5 separate regions of the Homo sapiens genome follow, and all the other regions are linked to region 1. Evidence: promoter capture Hi-C in 16 types of primary human blood cells and fetal thymus (Javierre and others, 2016). All regions are on one chromosome and are shown on one strand. The core of a region is centred on a gene start or on the middle of the fragment in contact, and the rest is flanking DNA. Distances in the headings are between cores, read along the strand shown. Region 1 holds the start of CYCS (cytochrome c, somatic). Region 2 holds the start of NUP42 (nucleoporin 42). Region 3 overlaps TRA2A (transformer 2 alpha homolog). Region 4 has its middle 9.6 kb from the start of TRA2A. Region 5 overlaps CCDC126 (coiled-coil domain containing 126).

What was found. The method cuts DNA at HindIII sites, captures the fragments that hold promoters and counts their contacts. A CHiCAGO score of 5 or more calls a contact.
Region 2: a contact is called between the fragment with the promoter of NUP42 here and the fragment with the promoter of CYCS in region 1, in 3 of 17 cell types (naive CD8 T cells, fetal thymus and total CD8 T cells). The highest score is 6.8, in naive CD8 T cells.
Region 3: a fragment that was not itself captured here is called in contact with the fragment with the promoter of CYCS in region 1 in 1 of 17 cell types (fetal thymus); the score reaches 6.6 in fetal thymus.
Region 4: a fragment that was not itself captured here is called in contact with the fragment with the promoter of CYCS in region 1 in 1 of 17 cell types (naive CD4 T cells); the score reaches 5.7 in naive CD4 T cells.
Region 5: a fragment that was not itself captured here is called in contact with the fragment with the promoter of CYCS in region 1 in 3 of 17 cell types (monocytes, non-activated CD4 T cells and activated CD4 T cells); the score reaches 6.1 in monocytes.

Annotation. Positions count from the first base shown.
Region 1 is chr7:25,124,010-25,126,621 of GRCh38, forward strand. CYCS (cytochrome c, somatic) reads right to left here and starts at 1,251. Exons shown (of 3, transcript NM_018947.6): 1 at 1,191-1,251; 2 at 1-118. The coding sequence starts at 110. It also overlaps a transcript of SPMIP4 not described here. RefSeq lists enhancers at 176-720, 721-1,264, 1,412-1,661. The HindIII fragment of the contact is 6,168 bases long and covers 859-2,612 here.
Region 2 is chr7:23,180,726-23,183,337 of GRCh38, forward strand. NUP42 (nucleoporin 42) reads left to right here and starts at 1,323. Exons shown (of 7, transcript NM_007342.3): 1 at 1,323-1,481. The coding sequence starts at 1,361. RefSeq lists enhancers at 918-1,517, 1,618-1,687. The HindIII fragment of the contact is 4,881 bases long and covers 1-2,383 here.
Region 3 is chr7:23,521,788-23,524,399 of GRCh38, forward strand. TRA2A (transformer 2 alpha homolog) reads right to left here. Exons shown (of 8, transcript NM_013293.5): 2 at 1-53. Among named protein-coding and RNA genes, the nearest start is that of TRA2A, 8.9 kb to the right of the region's middle. The HindIII fragment of the contact is 539 bases long and covers 1,021-1,559 here.
Region 4 is chr7:23,540,316-23,542,927 of GRCh38, forward strand. No RefSeq gene overlaps it. Among named protein-coding and RNA genes, the nearest start is that of TRA2A, 9.6 kb to the left of the region's middle. The HindIII fragment of the contact is 3,051 bases long and covers 1-2,612 here.
Region 5 is chr7:23,598,112-23,600,723 of GRCh38, forward strand. All of the region lies in intron 2 of CCDC126 (coiled-coil domain containing 126), which reads left to right. Among named protein-coding and RNA genes, the nearest start is that of CCDC126, 2.0 kb to the left of the region's middle. The HindIII fragment of the contact is 2,451 bases long and covers 77-2,527 here.

The sequences.
Region 1 (2,612 bases), core at 1-2,500:
AAGAGACCATGGAGATTTGGCCCAGTCTTGTGCTTGCCTCCCTTTTCAACGGTGTGGCACTGGGAACACTTCATAATAAAAATCTTCTTGCCTTTCTCAACATCACCCATATTTAATTCTAAAAACGAAAGCTTCAACTTAGTAAATTTTTCCTCAGGTAACAAATACAGTGTAAATGAATGACCACTCTAGCCACTTAATTACCAATCCATTGCTAATTTATGTCATTAAATACCAGAATGAATCTTGTTTTGCTTTAATACTCTTTATACCAAATATTCTTTAATACCAAAAACATTTTTAGGAGTACCTCCTCAAAAACGTATTTTTGTGTGTATACGTGAAGGAACGTTAAAGCCCAAGCAAAGAGGGAACCTAATTCAAACTCCAGTTTCAGAAGAGACAATCATGGTCACGAAGTCACAGATCTGAAGCTCAAGGGCGAACACATTAAGCCAAAATCACCACAACCGCAACTTTTAAAAAGACCTAACCATTTAATCTTACTACAATGTAAAGCCACCTCTCCCTGAGGATAACGCAAAGCACACAAATGTTTAAAAAGCGGTCCTGGCTGTTTCTATCTGCCCAGGTCACAGGAGTAGCTTGACACTCGAACTTGTGAATGGGAGCTCAGGGGCAGGCTGCACGGTCCCCCGGGGACATCCCAACTCCCCTACCTGTGATCTCCTGGGGCGACCACGAGGTCACCCGTCCAGGTCGGTTTCAAGGTGATTGATGAAACTCCTTCTAGGATGTCAGAACGACTGACGGAAGAAACATGTGCCCACGAAAAGAACTGGCCCCTTATTAGAAGAGCAACAGCTTTTGCCCTCTGAAGAAGAACGTGAAGCTCTAAGCTTCGGCTTTCCAGGAGGGAAGTCTTGCCTATCATTTCCATAGCCCTTCAGCAACCACTACGGAAGAGGCCGCCTCCTCCTCGGATCTGTATCCAAGCCGCCTCCAGTCCCTGACCGAGACCATACCTGTCCCTAGTTAGGGCTCCGCCGCACCTCAAGCCGTTACTCGCCCAGCTCGGTCTGACCACAGTCCAGGGTCTTCACTCCCCGCCCTCCCACCCAGCGCGGGCTCCACTCGAATGCTCCCCGCTTGGGTTTCGGTCGCTCGCAAGTGCGCGCCTCCCACAGCTCTGCCTCTAACCAGGTGCGGCCTCCGCGACCCGCTCTCACCTCTTTTTAGTCGCTGGCACAACGAACACTCCCGCTCCGAAGCCGGACGTCCCCACTCTCTAAGTCCAAGGACACGCCGGTCCGCGCTTAAGTACCGGTGTAAGTGCAACCAAACTCGCTCCGCGCTCCCGCGCCCTGACGTGCGGCCGAGCTGGCGGCTACGCAGTAACGTCGCCGCACCTCATTGGCTCCAGTCCCAATGCCTGCGCCAAGGACCTGCGCGCGCATGCTGGCGAGCATGTTAGGGTGTACGGCGTGCGTGCCCTTCTTCTCGAGGCTTTTCCCGGCCGTTACGACAGGCCTTTGGTCGTACGACAACGAGGTGGTGTCGGGAGAGGTGACGTCACTCGCGGGCCTCTGTGCGCTTGCGTGTGCTGGAGGAGCGGGGAGGGTGGGGCGGAGTCGCTTGGTTGGTGCGTTGCCCTGCTAAAGTATCAGTTCTTGGGCGTGGTGATGTAATGAGCTTTGAGCAGGGCGTTTTGCCGGTCCAGGAAAAGACGCCCTAATTTTGGCGCACCTAGAGGTCTCCTAGCTACCATCTTGTCAGCAGGCGACCTTTACCCAGACTCTGTCCTACTACCACGGCTGGCGCCAACAGCATCCTAGAGGGACAGCCTGGAACCAGGAGTTACACGAGTTGGGCACCAGCTCGTGACCTTGTTCTAGTTCCACCTATACTCTGTTACTTTCAGTCACATTCCAGCTCTCCGCTTGATGGACGCCCCAAGACTGAGGAAGGTGCTGCATTTGCGGCAGAGACAGGATTATCCCTCTGGAACTGAAAAATAAAATTAAGAGGATGCAATGATAACATTTATGTACCTTTTAAAATTTTTATGAGTACGAAGTAGGTAAATATATATATATACTTAAGAGGTACATGAGATATTTTGATACAGGCATACAATGTATAATAATCACATCAGGGTAAACGGTCTATCCATCACCTCAAGCATTTATCCTTTTTTTCTGTTACAAGCAATCCAATTATACTTTTAGTTTGTTTAATGTACAATAAATTATTGTTGAGTGTAGTCACCCTGTTGTATTACTAGACCTTATTCATTCTTCTTCAGTGGCGCCATTTAATGTCTCAGCCCCCCAAGTAGCTGGGACTACGGGAGCAAACCACCACGCCCAGCTAATTTTTGTATTTTTAGTAGAGATGGGGTTTCACTATTTGGTCAGGCTGGTCTCGAACTCCTGACCTCAGGTGATTCACCCGCATCGGCCTCCCAAAGTGCTGGGATTACAGGTGTGAGCCACCACGCCCAGGGCAAATAATATTTTATAACCCATTGTTTTAAACTGATGACAACATAACATTGATTGCATAAACAAAAATCAAAGAGAAAACTAAGAAAAACTCTGCACTTTAACTTCACTCTCCCCACTTTTAAAACTTTTTCTTGTTTCTATTTA
Region 2 (2,612 bases), core at 73-2,572, 1.9 Mb before region 1:
CTCACTCCCAGCTCAATAATCCTAAAACCACCAGCACAAACCTGTAATCCAACAAAGTCAGATCTATTGACTTATTGCAATCAAGAAGACTGCACACCAGAGGAGCTGTGGTGTGTCTCACCGTACAAAATAAAAGGTAGTTATTGTATGTTTTGGCGGGGAGAGTGAAGTTTAGGTGAAATTTAAATGAAATCTCAAAGCATAGCTGTGTGTAAAGGCATTAACATCAGGTCTGGACGAGAATTGAATGTAGGGCATGTTTCCTTGGAAACTGCAAAGTTAAGAAAATACAGAATGTTTTCAGAACCGTTTATCTGAAGCTCTACACCTGGATAGAAATTGAGGCTGCTTCTCTGCGTCAAAGAGACTTAGATCCTCCAGGCAAGGATGGGACTTTTCACTCGTTCTGATATAATTTCAAATAGCAACGTTTATGTGGACTTGAAAGAACAAGGTTTCGGCCAGACGCGGTGGCTCACACCTGTAATCGCAGCACTTTGGGAGGCGGACGCGGGCGGATCACGAGGTCAGAAAATAGAGACCATCCTGGCTAACACGGTGAAACCGTGTCTACTAAAAATACAAAAAAATTAGCCGGGCGTGGTGGCGGGCACCTGTAGTCCCAGCTACTCGGGAGGCTGAGGCACGAGAACGGCATGAACCTTGGAGGCAGAGCTTGCCTCCAAGCTCTGCCACTGTACTCCAGCCTGGGCGACAGAGCGAGACTCCGTCTCAAAAAAAAAAAAAAAAAAGAAGAAATAACAAGGTTTCTCAGTGTGTAGTAAGAATGTACTTAAGTGGTAATACTTTTCCGTTGCAGCATGTCCTAAAAGAAACATTGTTTCCTCTTAACGTCGTCTGGCTTTATTTGACTCTGTTATCCATCCAGATGAAAGGCTAGGCAGTTTGTTACTTTCTCAGCCCAAGCTAAGTTTTACCGTCTCAGCAAGAACGACTCAGTCTCTCAAATCATAGCTAATTCTCCTCTGAGGGCCTTGCTGAAGTTCTGCGTTTGCTTGCTCCGCTTTCCTCTCATTTTGGACCTCCAGCCTTCCTGTAGTCCGAGGCCCTGCACCGGGGTCAAACGCGCCTCCGGTCTTCACGTAACCGTTCAAGCATCCCTCCTTCCCAGGACACACTCAAAGCGTCAGAGCGGTCCGCTCTTCTCAAGTCCTATTGGCTCAAGTCCATGCGTCTCATGGCACTGCCGGGTGAGAGGCGGAAAAAGGCCTTCCCAGGCGCGAGAAGATGACGTCACAGTAGCCCGGCCGGGCGCCGAGGTTGCCTTAGGGCTCTCTGCCCAGTAACAGGCATCGAACGGTGCAGACTGAAGACGCCCTCCGTCAGCGACGCCGTCGCAATGGCCATTTGTCAATTCTTCCTTCAAGGCCGGTGCCGCTTTGGAGATCGGTGCTGGAACGAACATCCCGGTGCTAGGGGTGCAGGAGGAGGACGGCAGCAACCGCAGCAGCAGCCTTCAGGTGACTCTCCTCTGAATCCTCCGCGGTAACCGAGCCGGGAAGGGTCCGCCGGCGGGGACCGGGCGTCCCGCGTGTTTCCCGCTGCTGGTGACCCCAACGTGCCCGCGTCGCGGCCTTGCCGGCCCTACTGGGCCCTGCACAACGTTTTTAAACCGAGGGTTTTATCTACATATTATTCATGTGGTCCGTTTTTATTGAGCTTCTGAGGACCTGGGTTTGGGCCTGGATGCTTGTGCGAAACTGAGTTTTTAAATCGGAAGTACCTATCGAAACTACCTTGTAGGTAAATGCCGGAATTGAATATAATTTTTACTAAGTTGTTTTTTCGAGGGTGAGGCTAGCAGCTTGGGTCAGAATCAGGACTTCATTTTGGAGAAGTCGTGGACTTCTTTGAAAAAATCTAATAAAACCGGCCGGGCGGTGGCTCACGCCTGTAATCCCAGCACTTTGGGAGGCCGAGGCGGGCGGATCACGAGGTCAGGAGTTTGAGACCAGCCTGACCAACATAGTGAAACACCGTCTTTACTAAAAATACCAAAAAAAAAAAAAAAAAAAAAAATAGCCGGGCGTGGTGGCGCGCGCCTGTAATCCCAGCTACTCATGAGGCTGAGACAGGAGAATCGCTTGAACCCGGGAGGTGGAGGTTGCAGTGGGCCGAGATCGTGCCACTGCACTCCAGCCTGGGCGACAGAGCGAGACTATCAAAAAAAAAAAAAGAAAGAAAGAAAAGAAAAAAAGAAAATCTAATAAAACCTATAGAGCCATACCGCAAAAATGCACCTGCTCATAAATTTGGGGTGAAATTGGGAATGTGGGACGCCCAGTTAAGGGCTATCCGGGAGGTGAGGAAAGGAGATGCGGGGGCCACGTTGATCTAGTCCCTGGGCCTAGATCATTGTCAAAGCTTTTTATCTTCAAGGAAAGGAGAGATTAGACATGAAACCTTAGAACAACACAAGATTTTTAAAGATCGGGTTAATAATTCGGTGCTGTCTCCCTTCCTTCCCCTCCTTTAGGGCTATTCATCTGACCTTTATTTTTTTATTTTATTTTGAGACGGAGTCTTGCTCTCTCAGTCAGGCGGCTCACTGCGACCTCCGCCTCCCAGGCTCAAGCGATTCTTATGCCTCA
Region 3 (2,612 bases), core at 40-2,539, 1.6 Mb before region 1:
GATTTTACACGAGCAGGAGTTCCCGTTGGAGATTTTGACTGAGAGCGAGACTCCTAACAAAGAAGACAGTATTACAAATGGCACTGGTCATGTAGATGCCTAACACCTAACATTTAAAGTACCGTAATTATTTATATTGATTGCTCCTGAAAAACAAATGGTTAGACAACACCCTCCAGAAAAAATTTCAGCTCAATAATAACCCACTGTTAATACTGCTAACTGTCCTCAATAATTCCCTACTTGAACCAGATCACCAATTCTCTATTAACTAAGTAATCATGCAAATTCATCTACAACTTGATCATACAGACACTGGAACATAAACCATACATTTACTTAACCTAGGACCCATTCATTCTTCCAGATTCTTTTAATTCTACTTCACTCTTGCTTTCTACTTCTCTTCATTCTTCATTGAGTTTTTCATTTTTCATACTTCGTGTATTCTTCCCCAATTCAAACAATTCAAAATAGCCTTAAAAAAATATTCAAGTGCTTCTATCTGACCAATCTTCTGTTCAATTTTTTCCCCCATTCAATTTTAATTTTCTGATCTTTAATACTTTTCATTAGCCTTCTTTTATCTTGATTTATCTTCCACATTCTTGGAAAAAACTCTTCAATTTCTTCACGAACATTAACCTTAATGGAAAAAGAACATTTAGTATATTTAAGCACGTGGGGATTATAAAACTCTGCTGGAGTTCAGAATGTTATCTACCAAATGGAAAAGCCAGCAGGTAAAGTGCAAGTAACTAGTTTATTTAAAAAAAAAAAAAAAAAACAATTTTATAGTCTTTAAAATTGTTCAAAACTCTAGTTTCTAACAAAGAGAATTTACTAAATTTCTCTAAATGCTTTTTAAACCATACTCTTCACCCTCCTCCCATGTTTCATTCTAGTTCCTAAAATGTGAGCAATTTTAATATAATTCAAATATAAATCTAACAACTATAATTTCCCCCCACCTAAGTGTTAAATTTTCACTACTTTATAATCTGAAGATTCTTAAAAATAAGCTTTCACTAAGTCATGCTAAGAAATCAAGATATAGTTAGAGCAAGGCATCCCAGGCTGAAATATTTGTACACACCTATCTAAACTCACCCATAGCACATGTCAAGGTTCAAATAAGTCAAAAAGAAAAAAATCAGTAAAATTACACCTTCTCCCAACTTTGACTACTATCTTTGCTCATTCTGACTTAAAATATGTTCTGAAGACAAACATACCGAAAAAACTAATAAGCATGAAATTCTTAAAATTTCCCCATTAGCTTATTAATTCCTGATATACACATTTTTGCAACCAGATCACTTTAAAATGCTCTATTATCCACGACATACCACAATGTGCAAGAAGGTACAAAATTTATATCATAGTCTTTATCTTTGATTCCATCTCTTTAGAATTATGTTCAGTTTTTACATAATTTATGCATTTATGTATACTGGTACTCCCTTCAGTGACTATATTCTATATCCAAAAAGTGATGGGTTTCTGAAAAAATTGGGTGTAAATCAAAGCATTCCAAATAAAATAACTTACTGATCATAAGCTTGTTTTTTTTAACTGCACAGATATGAGGCACTTATGATCAAAACAGGATGGACAGCTTGGTTTCTGTGTCCAGTTAAGCCTTGATTATCAGTGTAAATAATTATCTCAATTTCACAGAAGTAATTTCACACCAATTTATTTATGCCTTAAGACTATCACACAACTCAAACAGCTTTCTGAAAACTTTTCCTTTGCTTCAAGTTTAATGTCAAGACTTATTTATCAAGAACTGTACAAATGCCACCTGGTCATTTTCTTTCAGATAAAAACAAAACTGAAATACACAGCTACCTTTCAGCTCAATACCAACCTTTCCCATTTAGCTACCTACAAGTCTTTCACTGCATCTCAGATACTCTAAACCACTCAACAGATGTCTGGAGCAGGCATAGCAATCTGGGCTTTTTCATTCACTGAAACTATGAAAGCAGCATATTCAGTATCTTATAAAAAAAGGCATGGCTAATTTGCTTGTAATTTAAGTTTCACAGACTGGTTCATTAATCAAACTCATAAGAGTATCTTCCCCTCTTCTCTTTTGGCTTTCCTTTCCACAAAACAGACCCTGTGACATAACATTCATTTATGCTACTGTTGAATAGCAATAGCTGGATTATTATCTACGAACGCTGCTACAGTCCTTCTCAAACATACACAGGAGGCTTTGCTCTGTAAAACACTACAATTCTTTAATTTTACTAGGATGGAAATAAAAACCTTTTATTAAAGTAAACAAGATAATTCAGTAACATCTTAAAATTCCAATTTTAAATCCCAGTTTTGGAGTAGCAACAAAGCATTATGGTATGATAGAATGTCTTTTTAAGAGATGTTAGCTTATTTATTTTAAGAAGGAGGAGTCTCATTCTGTCACCCAGGCTGGAGTGTAATGGTGCGATCTAGGCTCACTGCAACCTCCACCTCCTGGGTTCAAGTGATTCTCCTGCCTCAGCCTCCTGAGCAGCTGGGATTACAGGCATGCACCACCTTGCCTGGCTAATTTTTGTATTTTTAATAGAGATGGGGTTTTCCCATGTTGGCCAGGCTGG
Region 4 (2,612 bases), core at 39-2,538, 1.6 Mb before region 1:
TATTCCCCTGCCTTTCTGATTGTGGGTCATAAGACCCTCATTCCAGAGAGGCCAATCACATTTCCAAATAATTGTCCATAAAAACCCAGGAGGACTGGGTTCACAGAGTTTTCAGATAGCTAATACTTGGAGGTTCCTGGAGGGTGGCTTGCCCAGGGAGGGCATGGAAGCTCCACACCCCTTCCCCCATACCATATATTTTGTAATGTTTCTTTGAGTTTTGTGAGCTGCTCCAGCAAATTTATTAAACCCAAAGTGGTGGATGTGGGAATGCCCAAAGCACTAGGGTTATAGGCATGAGCTATCTCTTCTTTTTAATATTATTACTGTTATTTTTTGAGACAGAGTCTGGCTCTGTCTCCCAGGCTGGAGTGCAGTGGCACAGTCTCTGCTAACTGCAACTTCTCCTCCTGGGTTCAAGTTATTCTCGTGCCTCAGCCTCCCGAGTAGCTGGGATTACAGGCGCCTGCCACCATGCCCAACTAATGTTTGTATTTTTGGTAGAGACAGGGTTTCGCCATGTTGGCCAGGCTGGTGTCAAACTCCTGACCTCTAGTGACCCACCCCTGGCCTCGGCCTCTCAAAGTGCTGAGATTACAGGCATGAGCTGTTGTGCTCGGCCAAAAATATATTTTGTGGCCTCCCCAGTACCTCAAGCCTGTAATCTCAGCACTTTGCAAAGCTGAGGTGGGAGGACTGCTTGAGCCCAGGAGTTTGAGACCTGGGCAACAAAGTGGGACCCTGTCTCTAAAAAATTTAAAAAATTAGCTAGGTGTGGTGGTGCATGCCTGTGTCCCCACTACACAGGAGGCTGAGGCAGAAGGATCACTTGAGCACAGGAGGTCAAGGCTGCAGTGAGCAGTATTTGTGCCACTGCACTTCAGCCTGGGTGACAGAGCAAGACACTGTCTTAAAAGAAAAAAAACAACCAACCAACAAACATTTTATCACCTCAAGCACTCAGAGTAGAACACAACAAAATTAACCCATAGCATTTAGCCAGTTCTTAGGAACTAGATCTCAACACTGAAAGAGAGAAAGATCAACCACATTCAAAGAGAAGATAGGTAAATTAGAACATCAAAATTTACAACTTTTGTGCATTAAAGGATAATATCAACAGAGAGAAAAAACAATCCACTGAAAAGGAGAAATATTTAGAAATCATATGTCTAATAAGGGTCTAGTATTTAGAGTAAATAAATAACGCTTACAGTTTAAGAAAAAACAAGCGGCTTGGCGCAGTGGCTCACGCCTGTAATCCCAGCACTTTGGGAGGCTGAGGCGGGCAGATCACAACGTCAGGAGATCGAGACCATCCTGGCTAACATGGTGAAACCCTGTCTCTACTAAAAATACACAAAAATTAGCCGGGCATGGTGGCGGGCACCTGTAGTCCCAGCTACTCAGGAGGCTGAAGCAGGAGAATGGCGTGAACCCGGGAGGCGGAGACTGCAGTGAGCCTTGATCGCGCCACTGCACTCCAGCCTGGGCGACAGAGCAAGATTCCGTCTCAAAAAAAGAAAAGCAAAAACAAGCCTGGGCAACATAGTGAGACCCCTTCTCTATTAAAAAATTTACTTATTAATTATTTATTATATTATTATTTATTTTATTTTTTATAGAGACAGGGTCTTACTATATTTCTCAGGCTAATCTCAAACTTCTGGCCTGAAGTGATCCTCCTATCTTCGCCTCCCAAAGTGCTGTGATTACAGTCATGAGCCACCATACCCAGGCTATATCTCTTCCGTAGGGAGAAATCTACTGAAGTCCTTTGTTCATTTTCTAATTGTTGGTTTTTTTTTTCATTTTTTATTTAATTTTAAAAAATTGTTAGCTTTTGTTGCTGTAAAATTTTTTTTTCTTAGTTTCTTGTTTTGTTTTTGTTTTTTGGTGTTTTGGGGGCACAGGGGCTTGCTCTGTCACCTCATAGCCCACTGCAGCCTACAACTCCTGGCCTCAAGCAATCCTCCCACCTCAGCCTCCCAAAGTGCTAGAATTATATATATATATATTTTTGTAATTAGCTGGGTATGTTGGTGTGGGTCTATAATCCTAGCTACTGTGGGAGGCTGAGGTAGGGGGATGGCTTGGGCCCAGGAATTGGAGGCTGCAGTGAGCTACAGTGGCAGCACTGCACTCCAGCCTGGGTGACAGAAGGAGACCCTGTCTCTAAAAAAAAAAAAAAAGCAAGATGATATATAAATGGCAAATGAACATATGAAAAGATGCTCAACACCATGAGTCTTAGAGAAATGCAAATTAAAACCACAATGAGATACCACTTTACACCTACTAAGATGGCTACTATAACGTTGAAAAAAGAACAATCAATGACAGGTATTGAAAAGGATATGGAGAAATTGGAATCTTCATACACTGCTAGTGGGAATGTAAACTGGTGCACCTTCTCTGGAAAGCAGATGGGCAGTTCCTCAAAAACTTAAACAGAGAATTACTGTATGACCCAGCAATCCCATTCCTAGGTATATACCGAAGGGAAACATATGTTTGTTCACATGAAAACTTGTATGCAAATGTATATAGCAGCATTGTTCATGATAGCCAAAAAGTTGAAATATTTCAAATGTTTATCAGTTGATGCATGG
Region 5 (2,612 bases), core at 52-2,551, 1.5 Mb before region 1:
AGCCAGCTAGGGTTCGAATCCTGCCTGGGTTTCTCTCACTGCCTGCCTTGGTGATCTTGGTTACTTAAAGGCTCTAAGCTTGAGTTTTCTCATCCATCAAAACACACACCTGTAAGTGGTTAGAATTAGGAATATAGACCTATAACGTCATTAGTTCTTCATTTGATGAAAAGATCCTTTGTGATACTTTCATTAGCTATGACTGAAGTGACCGAAGTGGCCTCTGGACTTGAGTTTTGTGCTTTTGTTTGTTTAATCATCCTGGGTTGTGTGTTCTTCACTTTATCTTAAACCTAACCAAAGGATTCATTAAAATATGCCGTCTTCCTAATTTTTGCTGTTTTAAGATGGCTGAGAATGTTCTTAGGAAATTGATGACTCTGCTTTTCTGTGGATCAGCTTCAGAGGTACAAGTATTCACCTCTCCCCTCCCCCTCAGGTGTGTCCTTTGGGAATCCTTAGAGGCGCTAAGTGTTTGTTTCGTCAGAGTAGGCATCCAGGTATTTTACAGTCCTGCCTCTGGGCTTCACCATATTTAACCTGGGTCAACTTTTTTCTACATCTGTCTGCATCTTCTCACTGATTAATAATTTCTCACTCTAAAATGTGTTGCAAAAATACTTGTTTTGAGGAAAATGTTTCTATGTTGGTGTTATTTAGTGCAGTGTAGGACAGAGAGTAATGGCTACGGAAATAGGAGTCCTTAGTTTTGTCCTTGCTCTGTCACTATCTGTGTAACCTGAGATTACTTTGTGGTCCTCAATGTCCTCATCTCTAAAATAGTGAATTGGTCTGATTCCAAGGACTCTTCTAGCTCAGACTTTCAATGATAAAGGTTTTTAGAGGTTTTTTTTTAAATGTGGAAACAAAATTTGTGTAAACCCTTTTAGTCATTTGTGTTCTTAGTGTTTCTTCCTGCTTCAGGTCATATAATTCTTTCAAACTACCTTGAAAGAAGGAATACATTTAAGAGAACAAGAAAGCTGCCAGAAATAAGAATCTCTACCAGCCAGTTATCACTCTCTCATGAGCTGCACAGTTTCTCTGCATTTTTGACATGCTTTGTTCTCTTTCTCCCTACTCTGTATCTTTTGCTCATAGCCCCTATACCTGTTGTGCCTGATTCTTCATAACTTTAGCTTGTCAATCCCCTCATCCAACTTTATTATTTATTTTCATGACTTCTCCTTCAGCTCCTTCTGCCAACTGCCTGGTTTTCCCTGGGGCCTCTTTGTTTGAGGCCAGAGATGCTAGCCTAGTTGGCTTTGGAAGGGGAGGTGGGGACATGTGGCACAAAACATGATTGGCCACGGCTGTGACAGGTGAAGCTCTGTGATTGAAGTATCTAGTGCTGCATAGTGTGTGTCTATGTATATGTATATATATAGGTTTTGTTGTTTTTTTTTTTTGAGACAGAGTCTTACTCTGTCACCCAGGCTGTAGTGCAGTGGTGCTGGCTCACTGCAACTTCTACCTTTTGGGTTCAAGCAATTCTTGTACCTCATGCCTGGCTAATTTTTGTAGTTTTAGTAGAGACAGGGTCTCACCATGTTGGTCAGGCTGGTCTTGAACTTCTGACCTCAAGTGATCTGCCTATGTCAGCTTCCCAAATGGTGGGATTATAGGTGTGAGCCCTGGAGCCCGGCCTGCATAGTTTATTTTATTGCATATTTTAGTTTAGTTAGTTTAGTTTGAGACAGCCTTGCTCTTTCACTCAGCTTGGAGTGCAGTGGTGCGATCTCTGCACACTGCATCCTCTACCTCCCAGGTTCAAGCGATTCTTGTACCTCAGCCATCCAAGTAACTGGGTTTACAGGCATGCACCACCATGCCTGGCTAATTTTTGTATTTTTAGTAGAGATGGGGTTTCACCATGTTGACCAGACTGGTCTTGAATGCCTGACCTCAAGTGATCCGCCCTCTTCAGCCTCCCAAGGTGCTGGGATCACAGGCATGAGCCACCACGCCAGGCCATATTTTAAATTAAACTTTTACTGTAGCATAATGGTTAGTTTTCTTTTTGCCTTAACATTTTCTGTTTTTATCCCTGCCTCACTTTACCATTTTTCTTTTATCTGTTTTTGTAATATTCAGTGCTATTGTCTTCTATTCTGTCTCCCAAATGTGCCATCTAAAAATGATCTGATATCTTGACACTCATTATTTCCGTATCTTAGCTGGAATTTTAGTGTAGCTTCTCTCAAGGCAGTGCATTTTAAATCTTAGACCTTATTATGGAGCGAATGGCTGTGTTCTGTGTTAACCCCCCCCCCCCCACCACCATATTAGCCTCAGGCAGTGTTACATAGAGAAAATATTTTAGGAATGCCCCTTTTTCCCTGAAATTACATTCCGGGGTCAAGTCTGTGGAGGACTTTTTTTTGGGTCGTTTTTGGAGAGAACTATTTGAACCTCTGAGCTGTGGTGAACATACTGTGTCTTTTTGTAGTAAATCTATGCCTCTCTAGCTGAAATTCCTTTGGAGACTAATAGGCAGTAGTTCTTCTAGTACCTTTGGCTGAGTGAAAGCTTCTCTGCCTGCTAGTTGCTGCTATTGCTGTTGATAGTTACTTTAGCTATAGTTATAATGGCACAAAATGTAGAGCACTGAA